Regions from separate parts of the Homo sapiens genome. Here region 2 is linked to region 1. Evidence: promoter capture Hi-C in human tissues and cell types (Jung and others, 2019). All regions are on one chromosome and are shown on one strand. Each heading gives the region's core, a stretch centred on a gene start or on the middle of the fragment in contact. The rest is flanking DNA. Distances are from core to core; before and after follow the strand shown.

The links. Contacts are between HindIII fragments. The study calls those that stand out against the background at their distance.
Region 2: a contact is called between a fragment that was not itself captured here and the fragment with the promoter of ALKBH8 in region 1, in 1 of the 25 tissues and cell types used here (spleen).

What each region holds. Positions count from the first base shown.
Region 1 is chr11:107,563,242-107,568,338 of GRCh38, reverse strand. ALKBH8 (alkB homolog 8, tRNA methyltransferase) reads left to right here and starts at 2,604. Exons shown (of 12, transcript NM_138775.3): 1 at 2,604-2,738. RefSeq lists enhancers at 304-383, 2,312-2,371, 2,218-2,734, 2,442-2,931, 2,735-3,253. The HindIII fragment of the contact is 10,640 bases long and covers 1-5,097 here.
Region 2 is chr11:107,741,609-107,746,705 of GRCh38, reverse strand. No RefSeq gene overlaps it. Among named protein-coding and RNA genes, the nearest start is that of SLN, 32 kb to the right of the region's middle. RefSeq lists enhancers at 4,579-5,079, 5,080-5,097. The HindIII fragment of the contact is 4,332 bases long and covers 271-4,602 here.

The sequences.
Region 1 (5,097 bases), core at 1,355-3,854:
TCAGGTCATACTCCAATGCCCCCATATTCTTTAGAAACCACTCTGGTTTCTAAAGGGAAGTGTTAATCAAGTTTAGCCTAAAGCTGCCTCCTTACATATTTAAGTTCAGCCTAAAGGTTTTTCTGTACATCGTGAACAAGTGGAGGAGTAAACCAACCATAGCCCACACCTGTGCCAATCGCTGAGTTTTGGCCAATCAAATGTAGCCAATTGTTTGAACAGTGTTCAAATAAGGCAAACACCAACCTGTAACCAATAACAGCTGTTTCTGCACCTCACTTCTGATTTCTGTACATCATTTCCTTTTTTTTTTTTTGTCTACAAATCCTCCACCACATGGCTGTGCTGGAGTCTCTCCAAATCTGCTGTGATTCTGGGGGCTGCCCGATTTACGAATCAAAAGTTCATTGCTCAATTAAACTCCTTTAAATTTAATTTGGCTAAAGTTTTTCTTTTAATAGAAGCCAGGGCTGAAGATAAAGATTAGGGAATGATTCACAAATCTCTTTATAACTCTGGGGAGGGCAGACAGGAAGAGACTAGAATAACAGAAAAGAGTCAAACTCAAAATCTGAGGGATTGCCTATATTTAATTACGGACAGAGTGAGAGAAACTAGTGGAAAATTCTGAAAGTAAGTGATCAGATCGTATAAAGAGAATTAAAAGAGAGGTGCAGAAAAAAAGTTTTAAAAGCTTCAGCACCTTAAAGCAGGACAAATACTGAGATGAAGTAATTGAATTTGATCAGTAAGAGATAAGAGGATATTTTACACTGTTATCCAGTTTGGTAGACACCGGCCACTTGTGGCTACTTAAGTTTAATTGAAACTAAAATTTAAACATTCAAAATTCATTTCCTTAGTCATACTAGCCACATTTGAAATGCTCATAAGCCACACGTTAACTAGTGTCTATTATGTTGGACAGCTCAAACTATAAAATATTTCCATCATTGCAGAAAGCTCTATGGGGATGTGTTTTTGAAAGCATCCAGTAGTGCAGAAGCAGAATTGCAATGGGGAGATTTCCTGTGTGTCCTCTTATACTCATGTAGCTTGCAATGTCTGGTGGATTTGACCTCTCCAGCTTGCACTTGCCTCCTCATTTTTACTATTAAGTTTTGGTCTCACCCTTTCTTTCCTAGACTATTGCAATGCTTGCCTATCTGCCTCTTCTGTTCTTTCATGTTTGTAACCTATTCTCCACACAAATCATTCCGCCACTCAACAGCACTCTTTTTTCACTGCCACTTTTCCTGGTCAGCCAGCTATTTTATTGTTAGTCCACTGTGGTGCACTGCAGATAGGGGCCATTGTATCAACAACATGGGAAGGTGATTCCTCTTCCCCTACACCTTTCCCTCCCTGCACTCACATAGCTCATAAACCAATGCAGGTAGAAGGATTATGGTACATTTATATAACAAATAACAGAGCAGGAACAACTGCTAATCATCACCCTCTCCTTTGTCTTTTACTTATGATCTGTTACCAGCTCTTTTTTCTTTCCCTCTGCCACTACTGGGCTTGTTAATATTTCGTTACTTTTCACTTCATCAGTCATCTTCTAGTCTCTCCTCCCACTTGCCACAAGAAGCTCTGGTCATATCATTTCATTTCTCTAACCTTCCTCCCTGCAACTCCCACTCTGCAGGCCTACAGAATTCTGTCTTGCTTCCTTCACCATTCTTCCACACATCTTTCTATTACTCTGTGGTACTCACCATTCCCCTGGCACATTCATGCATATTCACTTCCTTCCCTCCCGCCCATGCAATGCCATCTTTCAGACCCCAGGATCCTCTCCCATATCTCTGTGAACCCTGAATATCTGAGACAGGTCTCAGACAATTTAGGAAATTTATTTTGCCAAAGTTAAGGACGCCCGCCCGTGACACAGCCTCAGGAGGTCCTGATGATATGTGTCCAGGGTGGTCGGGGCACAGCTTGGTTTTATACATTTTAGGGAGACATGAGGCATCAATCAATATATGTAAGATGAACATTGGTTCCGTCCAGAAAGGAGGGACAAATTGAAGCAGAGGCGGGCCAACTCAAAGTGAGGAGGGGGCTTCCAGGTCGCACGTATTACAGCTGAGAGACAAATGGTTGCATTCTTTTGAGTTTCTGATGAGCCTTTCCAAAGGAGGCAATCAGATATGCATTTATCTCAGTGAGCAGAGGGATGACTCAGAGGGATGACTTTGAATAGAATGGGAGGCAGGTTTGCCCAAGCAGTTCCTAGCTTGACTTTTCCCTTTAGCTTAGTGATTTTGTGGCACCAAGATTTATTTTCCTTTCTCACCTCTAATAAGATTCAGGAGGAAATATGCACGAAGAATAGAAGGTGCCAGGGGACATTGCTGAAAGACCAAAGGGCCCAAACCTGTTTGACCTTGTCCATTTGGAGAGCAACAGATAAAAATATAGCTGCACTACCAATTATTACTACTCCCCCCAAAAAGACAACTGAATTTTCAGTGTAACAGACAGCACTTTACAAAGACACTTGGTCGAAAAAGGGTCACTCCCGGGCTCTGGGAGGCGAAGAGGACTGTGGGAGCGCTGTTCGTTGTCCCGCGGGCTCATGGGAAATGTAGTGCAGTTTTCTCCAACATGGCCGCGCCCAGGGGAGATGGCGTGCAAGTATCCGCTGCGGTGTTCTGGTGCTAGAGTGGAGAGGCTGGCAAAGAAGAAGGCACACGCATGGTGAGAATCCGGCCTGAGCCGAAGCGGAGGTGTGTGGCACTTCTTACTGGCGGGCATACGGGCAGCAAATCACCGCTTCCTCTTTTCAGCCTCTTCCGGTCTTCTCTATCCGCCTTGCCAGCTAGGGCTGAGAACCTAGGGAAAGGGGATGGATCCCAGAGGCGCCCTTGGTGCAGTGTGGGCAGTAGGGTGTCTGCGTTGGGTGGTTCTCTCAGTGTTTAGGGTGCATGTGTTTGTGTTTGGTTCGGGCGCTCACGTGGTGCCTGTGTCAATCTTCTGTTTTCTTTGGGGTTGGAGAGGACGGTTGCAACATGGGGCGTGTTAGTGTGGCGCTTCTGGGGCTTTTCTGACCGGTGACAATCGGTCTGATTGCATCGATGCAAAGGCAGTGCTGATGATCTGATCCCTTGCGCAGCTGAGTCTTCCTGTGCTCTTATTTGAGCAATCCCTGCGACTCCTGGACCTCTGGTAGCGTCAGCCTGTTATTTTGATAGATTTCATTGAATATTTATTGTCAGTTGTATGTCAGGCACCAAGTCTGTGCCCTTAAATAGATGACAGTTTTCTGGCCGAAGCCCAACACAAACAGGCAATTATAATACCATGTGAGAACTCTAGAGATAGAGGTCCATGCTAGGTGTTAATGAAAACGTTGAAGAAGGCCACCAAACTCAGAATTCTGGAGGAGGGGAGGTTTAGGAGGTAAGACAGCAAAGTCGATTTAGGTTTATTCGACAAATGGTTATTGAGTGGCTGCTAGGTGCTAAATCCTGTTTAAGTGCTGGGTGCTACAGGGTGAACAATAGAGACAAAATCTCTACTTCATGGAGTGAGTGTTCTTTATTCAGTTATGGGGAAAGACAGAATAAACAAATTAATGAGAGTGTAAGAAAATATGTAGTAAGTGTTATTCAAAGAGTTAAAACGGGGTGCCGTGACAAGTGATGGGGTGAATTTTTTTCTAAAAATTTTAAATCTTTATTTTCTTTTTAAATAGATGATGCAGTTTAAATAGCTACTAACTTCAAAAGTCATGAAAGAAGAAAGCTCCCTTTCATTCCTTTACTCATCGATCCATTTTCCTTCCCTGGAGGCAACCCATATCACCAATTTCTTGTGTGTCCTAAAGATTTATATGTAAACTCTGTATACCAGTGCCGTACGTTAAAATTGGGCCTCGTTTGATAGGAAGTTAGATTCTTTCTAATCTTTGCTATTAATTATTAGGTTGTGCAAAAGTAATCATGGTTTTTGCATTTTTTTAAACATATAAGTATAGGAACATTTGTCTATACTGCTTGTTTCATAATAGGCTCTCTATTATTCAAGGAGGGCATGATGTACATACTACTATTACCACGTAGGGCAATATCTAGTAGGATATATTGGCTTTAAACTCACTAACAAGCAAGTAGCAGAGCATGCATAATCTCCAAACTTTCATTATCCCACAGAGAGTACGCTTAGGCTGGAGCTGGCTGAACCGGACTCAGCATGGCTAGTATCATAGTTAATAGTGACTTCACTCCAGTAATGTCACAGGGAGCATCCAAGTATCTGTGCATTAGTGGAAACTCTGGCCAGGGAAGTGGCTTTGTCAGAAGGGGGCACCTCCAGACCTCAGCAGCTGGTATCAGCCTATCCTTGTTGAGATGACTCAGATATGTTGGGCCAGCACATTGCCTAGCCACTGGAATGGTGGAAAACTGAGCCTCAAAGGCCATTTAGTGTCTTTCTTCACGTGCAATAATATTGCATGACTGAGGGAGAGAAAAAGGAAAGGGATGACAAAAATGTGGTTATGAGGCTCCACCTGCTGGTGCTGGACTCTTAGTGGCAGACATTTTAAAAAGATATATTTAGCATCGTTTCTTTCTCATTCCTTCTTTGCAGTGTTTGCTCATGTGAAATATTAAAAATTCTGTAGTGCAGTCATCCCTTGTTCTCCATGACATACTGCAAAGTTGCTGTTCCACAGATGAAGATCTTGAAATGGAATGGCTCTAAAATAGCTCCTTTGAAGGGCCTCAGATATTCTTTGTTTTGTTAAGCCATTTTGATCTGCTGCTTCTGAAAATCAACAGTAATAAATAAATAATAATAAATAAATTTAATTCTAAGAAAGCTATGGGATAGGCACTATTATTTTTATCCCTATTCCTAGATAAAGAAACTGGAACACAGAGCTATATAACCAACTCATCTAGGATTATACAGCTAATAATCAGTGGTTGAGCTGAGATTTGAACCTGGAACATGGACTCCTAAACACTGTATTATATTACCTCATAGCACTGAATGAGGCTCTGTGGTAACTAAGAAAAGTGTGATTTAATCCCGCCTTCAGAAAGCTCACAGTTCAGTGGAAGGGGACAGATACTAAAACAA
Region 2 (5,097 bases), core at 1,187-3,686, 180 kb before region 1:
GTAAAATTCATTGTTAAATATAGAGCATTCTCAGTGTTATTAGATCTTGTCTCATTCCCTCCCTAGATAGCATTGTCCCATCTTCATCGACACTTCTTATTAGACTTTAAAACCTTTATAAAATGAATTGAGGTGAAAGTTTGTCTTACTGTTTTATGGTGCATCTTGATTAACGGGGAATATTTTTCATGTTTTCTTTTTTTTGGTCATTAAGATTTCCTGTTTTTTTGAGAGTTGCCTGTTTATATCCTTTGCTCATTTTTTCTATTGGGTTATTAGTCTTTCTCTTATTGACTTTAGGAATTCTTTGAGCTCTGGATATTATTTCTTTGATGGTTTTTATAAAGTTAACATTTCCCCAGTCTATGGCTAATATTTTTTTTTAATTTTAAATTTTTGTGGGTACATAGGTGTATATATTTATGGGTTGCATGAGGTATTTTGATACAGGCATGCAATGGGTAATAATAACATCAGGGTAAATAGGGGTATCCATCACCTCAAGCATTTATCCTTTGTGTTTCAAACATTCTGACATACTCTTTTAGTTATTTTAAAAATTCATATATCTATATATATTTTTACTATAGTCATCCCGTTGTACTAGCAAATACTAGGTCTTATCTATTTTTCTTTTCTTTTCTTTTTTTTTTTTTTTAGAAGGATCTCACTCTGTCACCCAGGCTGGGGTGCAGTGGTACAATCTTGACTCACTGCAACCTCTGCCTCTTGGGTTCAAGCGATTCTCTTGCTTCAGTCTCCCGAGTAGCTGGGATTACAGGTGTGCACCACCACTCCCAGCTAATTTTTATATTTTTAGTATAGACGGTGTTTCACCATGTTGGCCAGGCTAGTCTCAAACTCCTGACCTCAAGTGATCCACCTGCCTTGGCCTCCCAAAGTGCTGGGATTACAGGCGTGAGCCACTGCACCCAGCCTCTAATTTATTCTAACTACTTTTTTTTGTAGCCGTTAACCATTCCCCACCCCCATACCCACTCCCACTTCACCACTACCCTTCCCAGGCTGTGGTAACCATCTTTCTACTCTCTATTTCCATGAATTCAATTGTTTTAATTTTTAGCTCCCACAGATAAGTGAGAAGAGGTGATGTTTATCATTCTGTGCCTGACTTACTTCACTTAACATAATGACCTCCAGTTCCATCTCAGTTGTTGGATATGACAGGATCTCATCCTTTTTTGTAGCTGAATAGTACTCCATTATATATAGTACCACATTTTCTTTATCTACTCATCTGTTGATGGACACTTAGGTTGCTTCGAAATCTTGGCTACTGTGAACAGTGCTGCAATAAATATGGGAGTGCAGATATCTCTCTGATATACTGATTTCCTGTCTTTTGGGTATAAACCTAGGAGTGGGATTGCTGGATTATATGGTAGCTCTATTTTTAGTTTTTTGAGGAACCTCCAAACTGTTTTTCATAGTGGTTGTGCTCATTTTACATTCCCACCAAGAGTGTATGAGAATTCCCTTTTCTCCTCATCCTTGCCAACATTTGTTATTGTATGGCTTATCTCTTAACTTGGTTTATAGAGTCCTGCTTTTACAGACATTTCACATTTTTAAATAGTCCAAAATGAACACTCTTTTTATTTGTAAAAAGACTGACCTACCATCTGACACCAAATGAAGGCAAGACCAGTCAACTCCAGTCATTCTAGTGATCTCCAGGCTATTGGCAAATAAGGCATTCAGCACAAGTGTTCTTTTAATTGGGACATGCTGTGAATAATTAGCATGGCCAGTCCCCATCAGGTGTCAGAGAGCTCTTCTTGCCTTCTGGAAGGAGTTTGGATGAGGAGTCATCTCCTGCTGGCTCCGCTCCTCATGGTGTGCCCTTGGTAGAGACCTGGCTTCCAGCTCTACCACTAATTCCATTTAAACCCCAGTTTCCTGATATGTAGAAAAGAATAACGCTGCTTCACAGGGCTGTTGGATGCACGCTGGATAGGGGTAAAAATGCTTTGCAAGATAACAGATAAAAGCAAAATACTGTTATTACTAACCTCTGTGGGCTTCATCGTTCATATGTGTAGAATAAGAGGGATGGGACTAGGTATTAACAGCCCCTTTCAGCTCTACAATAGCCTGTGATTCTGTGACTAGGGGTAAAAACAGAACCTCCAAGTAAGATGGGGTAGCAGGTGGCCTCTAGCAGTTATGGGGCTCTTGGTAAGGCCACCTACTGGAAGAAATATTACAAGGCAAATAAGAAAATGCAATATCCCTGCCTTCCTCTCTTCTTCACTTCTCCCATTCTTCCCTGCTTTCCTTTCATCTGTTTCTCCCTTCTGTCTTCCTTTCTTCTATTCTTGGAACACTCCCCCACTTTACTGGCTCAATTCTATTTATCCTTCAGATATTCTTTGTTTTTTTCCTGGGAAGCATCCTCTAGGAGGCTTTTAATGATCATCAAATTTTATGCAGTGGTGTCCTTCCTATGTGCTTCCATGGTGTCCTCATAACCTCCACCATTGCACTTACTCGTATTAATTGTCTGCAATCCTTATAAAATTTAAGCTTGGGGAATAGAGAGGGCTCATTTCTTGTTCGCTGCTGTATCCCCAGAGCCTGTTTCAGTGCTGGGAATAAAGCAGGGTGCTCAAATCCCGTTGGATGAAGGAGTAAATATACAGGAACTATGCTAGGCAGCATGAGTACAGAGATGAATAAGAATTGTCCTTAGCTATGAAGGAATTAAAGGTCTTGAAGGGAGGAGGGACATGCAATCAAGTAACTGCAATACTGTATTATAAGAACAAGCAACAGAAATCCATTTGAAAGTACAGCTTTATATATAGAGAAGTGTTTAGACAGGTCAAAGAAAGCACTCTGAGAAAGAGATGAGCTGGATTTTCAAAAATGAGCAGGAATGATGTGTCAATCTGAGTAAAGTAAGGGACTTGCCAGATAGAAGCAGCTCACTTATTTAATAATTAATTCAAAAAATATTTATTGAGCTTCTACATTGCTCCAGGTACTGTTGTAGGTGCTGAGGGTACAACAGATACAAAGAGAGTCCGCCCTGGTGGAGCCCCTCCTCACCTCCTGCAGAGGTCCTCTTTCTGTAGTGACCCCTGTCATCCTGGGCCTCTGCAGCTCTTCTGAGAATGTGGTATTTAATGCATATGAAGTCCTATAGAGTATCTGACATGCCTCTCTTTGATCCAGGAAAACAGGGTCCTGGCTGTTTTTGTGCTAAGGGAGACGTGAGGGTTTGTTTCTCAATGTTTTGATCAAAGGCACACAGCTGTCACACGAGAACGCCTTGGAAATGTAATCTGACTGCCCCAAAGCACCAACTGGCCTCACCATCTGTCTCAGGCCACAGTCTGACTGAGGACTGTCTTTGGCTGAACACCCCTTGTATGGGTCAAATACTAACACTGGCATCCACCAGGGGAAATAACAAAGTAAGAAAAAGTAAAAATGGAATAAAGGCTGAAGGGAGTCTCATAAATCAACCCACACCATTATGCAGAGCTTTTATGGAGAAATCAGTAGAAAGAAATACAGAGTTACATAGAGGTGAAAGATAAATCATTAAAGGGGTCCTTTTATGGCAAAACTGAATTTCCACTTTCAGCAAGTTTTTGGCTGATTCCTATGGAATGATAGAATGGAAATGAACTTCTTTCCTGTGTTCTGCTTACTTATCTAAGTCAACTTGGCATTTTATTTTATTTTTGAGACAGGGTTTCACTCTGTTGCAGAGGCTGTAGTGCAGTGGCATGATCTTGGCTCACTGTAACCTCCACCTCCCAAGATCAAGCAATTCTCATGCCTCAGCCTTTCTAGTAGCTGGGATTACAGGCACCTGCCACCATGCCTGGCTAATTTTTGTATTTTTAGTAGAGATGGGGTTTCACCATGTTGGCCAGGCTGGTCTCAAACTCCTGGCTTCAAGTGATCCACCCACCTCAGCCTCCCAAAGTGCTGGAATTACAGGCGTGAGCCACTGCTACTGGCCAATTTGGCATTTTAAACAAGCCTTCTTCTCCAGGTGAGTGGCTGCAGGGACGAACATAAGATTTATAACTTTAAAGAGAGAAAGAGGATAGAAGGGGAATTGAGAATATATTTTATCATTTAAAAATATTGGATGGGTTGGGCACCGTGGCTCATGCCTGTAATCCCAGCATTTTGGGAGGCCAAGGCAGGTGGATCACCTGAGGTCAGGAGTTTGAGACCAGCCTGGCCAACACGGTGAAACCCTGTGTGTACTAAAAATACAAAAATTAGCCAGGTGTGGTGGCAGGCACCTGTAATCTCAGCTACTTGGGAGGCTGAGGCTGAAGAATCGCTTGAACCCAGGAGGCGGAGGTTGTGGTGACTGGAGATTGTGCCACTGCACTCCAGCCTGGGCGACAAGAGTGAAACTCCAGCTTAAAAAAAAAAAGTGGATGGAGGTGACAAGATGGCCAATAGATACAGTCAAGGAGCATCTCCCAATGAGAGAGACCAAAATATTGAATAAACCAACATCCTTAGGACAGATCTTTGGAGAGAAAACACAGAGTAATAGAGAGGTAAGGCAGACACTGAGACTGAAGAGGGAGGAAGCTGGGAACCCTGCACAGGTTTGCAGAGCACTGGGACTGGTTCCCGGCCCTGAACAGCTCCTAAGGAAGGGGTGAGTGAAGTGATGGCGGGGTAACCCACTCTCACCACAGACCTCTCAGATATTAGCTACAAGAGGTCCCATGACTCCTACAGATGTTTGAATTGTCAAGGGAATCTGCCTGGAGAGTAGGCAGAAACAGTGCTCCAGGCTGTGCAGAGCCTAGAAGGTTTTGCACATGGAGAAGCTGCAGCAAAATGTGGCCACAGGCACCCATCCCACAGGATTCTCTGTCTTCCTCTGAGTAGCTCTAACCTTGGCTGGCTGCTGGGCCAGGAGAGAGTGGGGCCATCTTTCCTGTGGGACTGGGGCATGTCTGTTCTGCATGCTCCTCTATCCACCAGCCCCTCCCAAGGCCCCTGCCTGGCCACTCCTACAAGAGCAGGTACACAGCACGGCCTCCACTGCCCAGGCAGAGTGCTTTCCTCACAGCCTGAGAGCACTCCAGC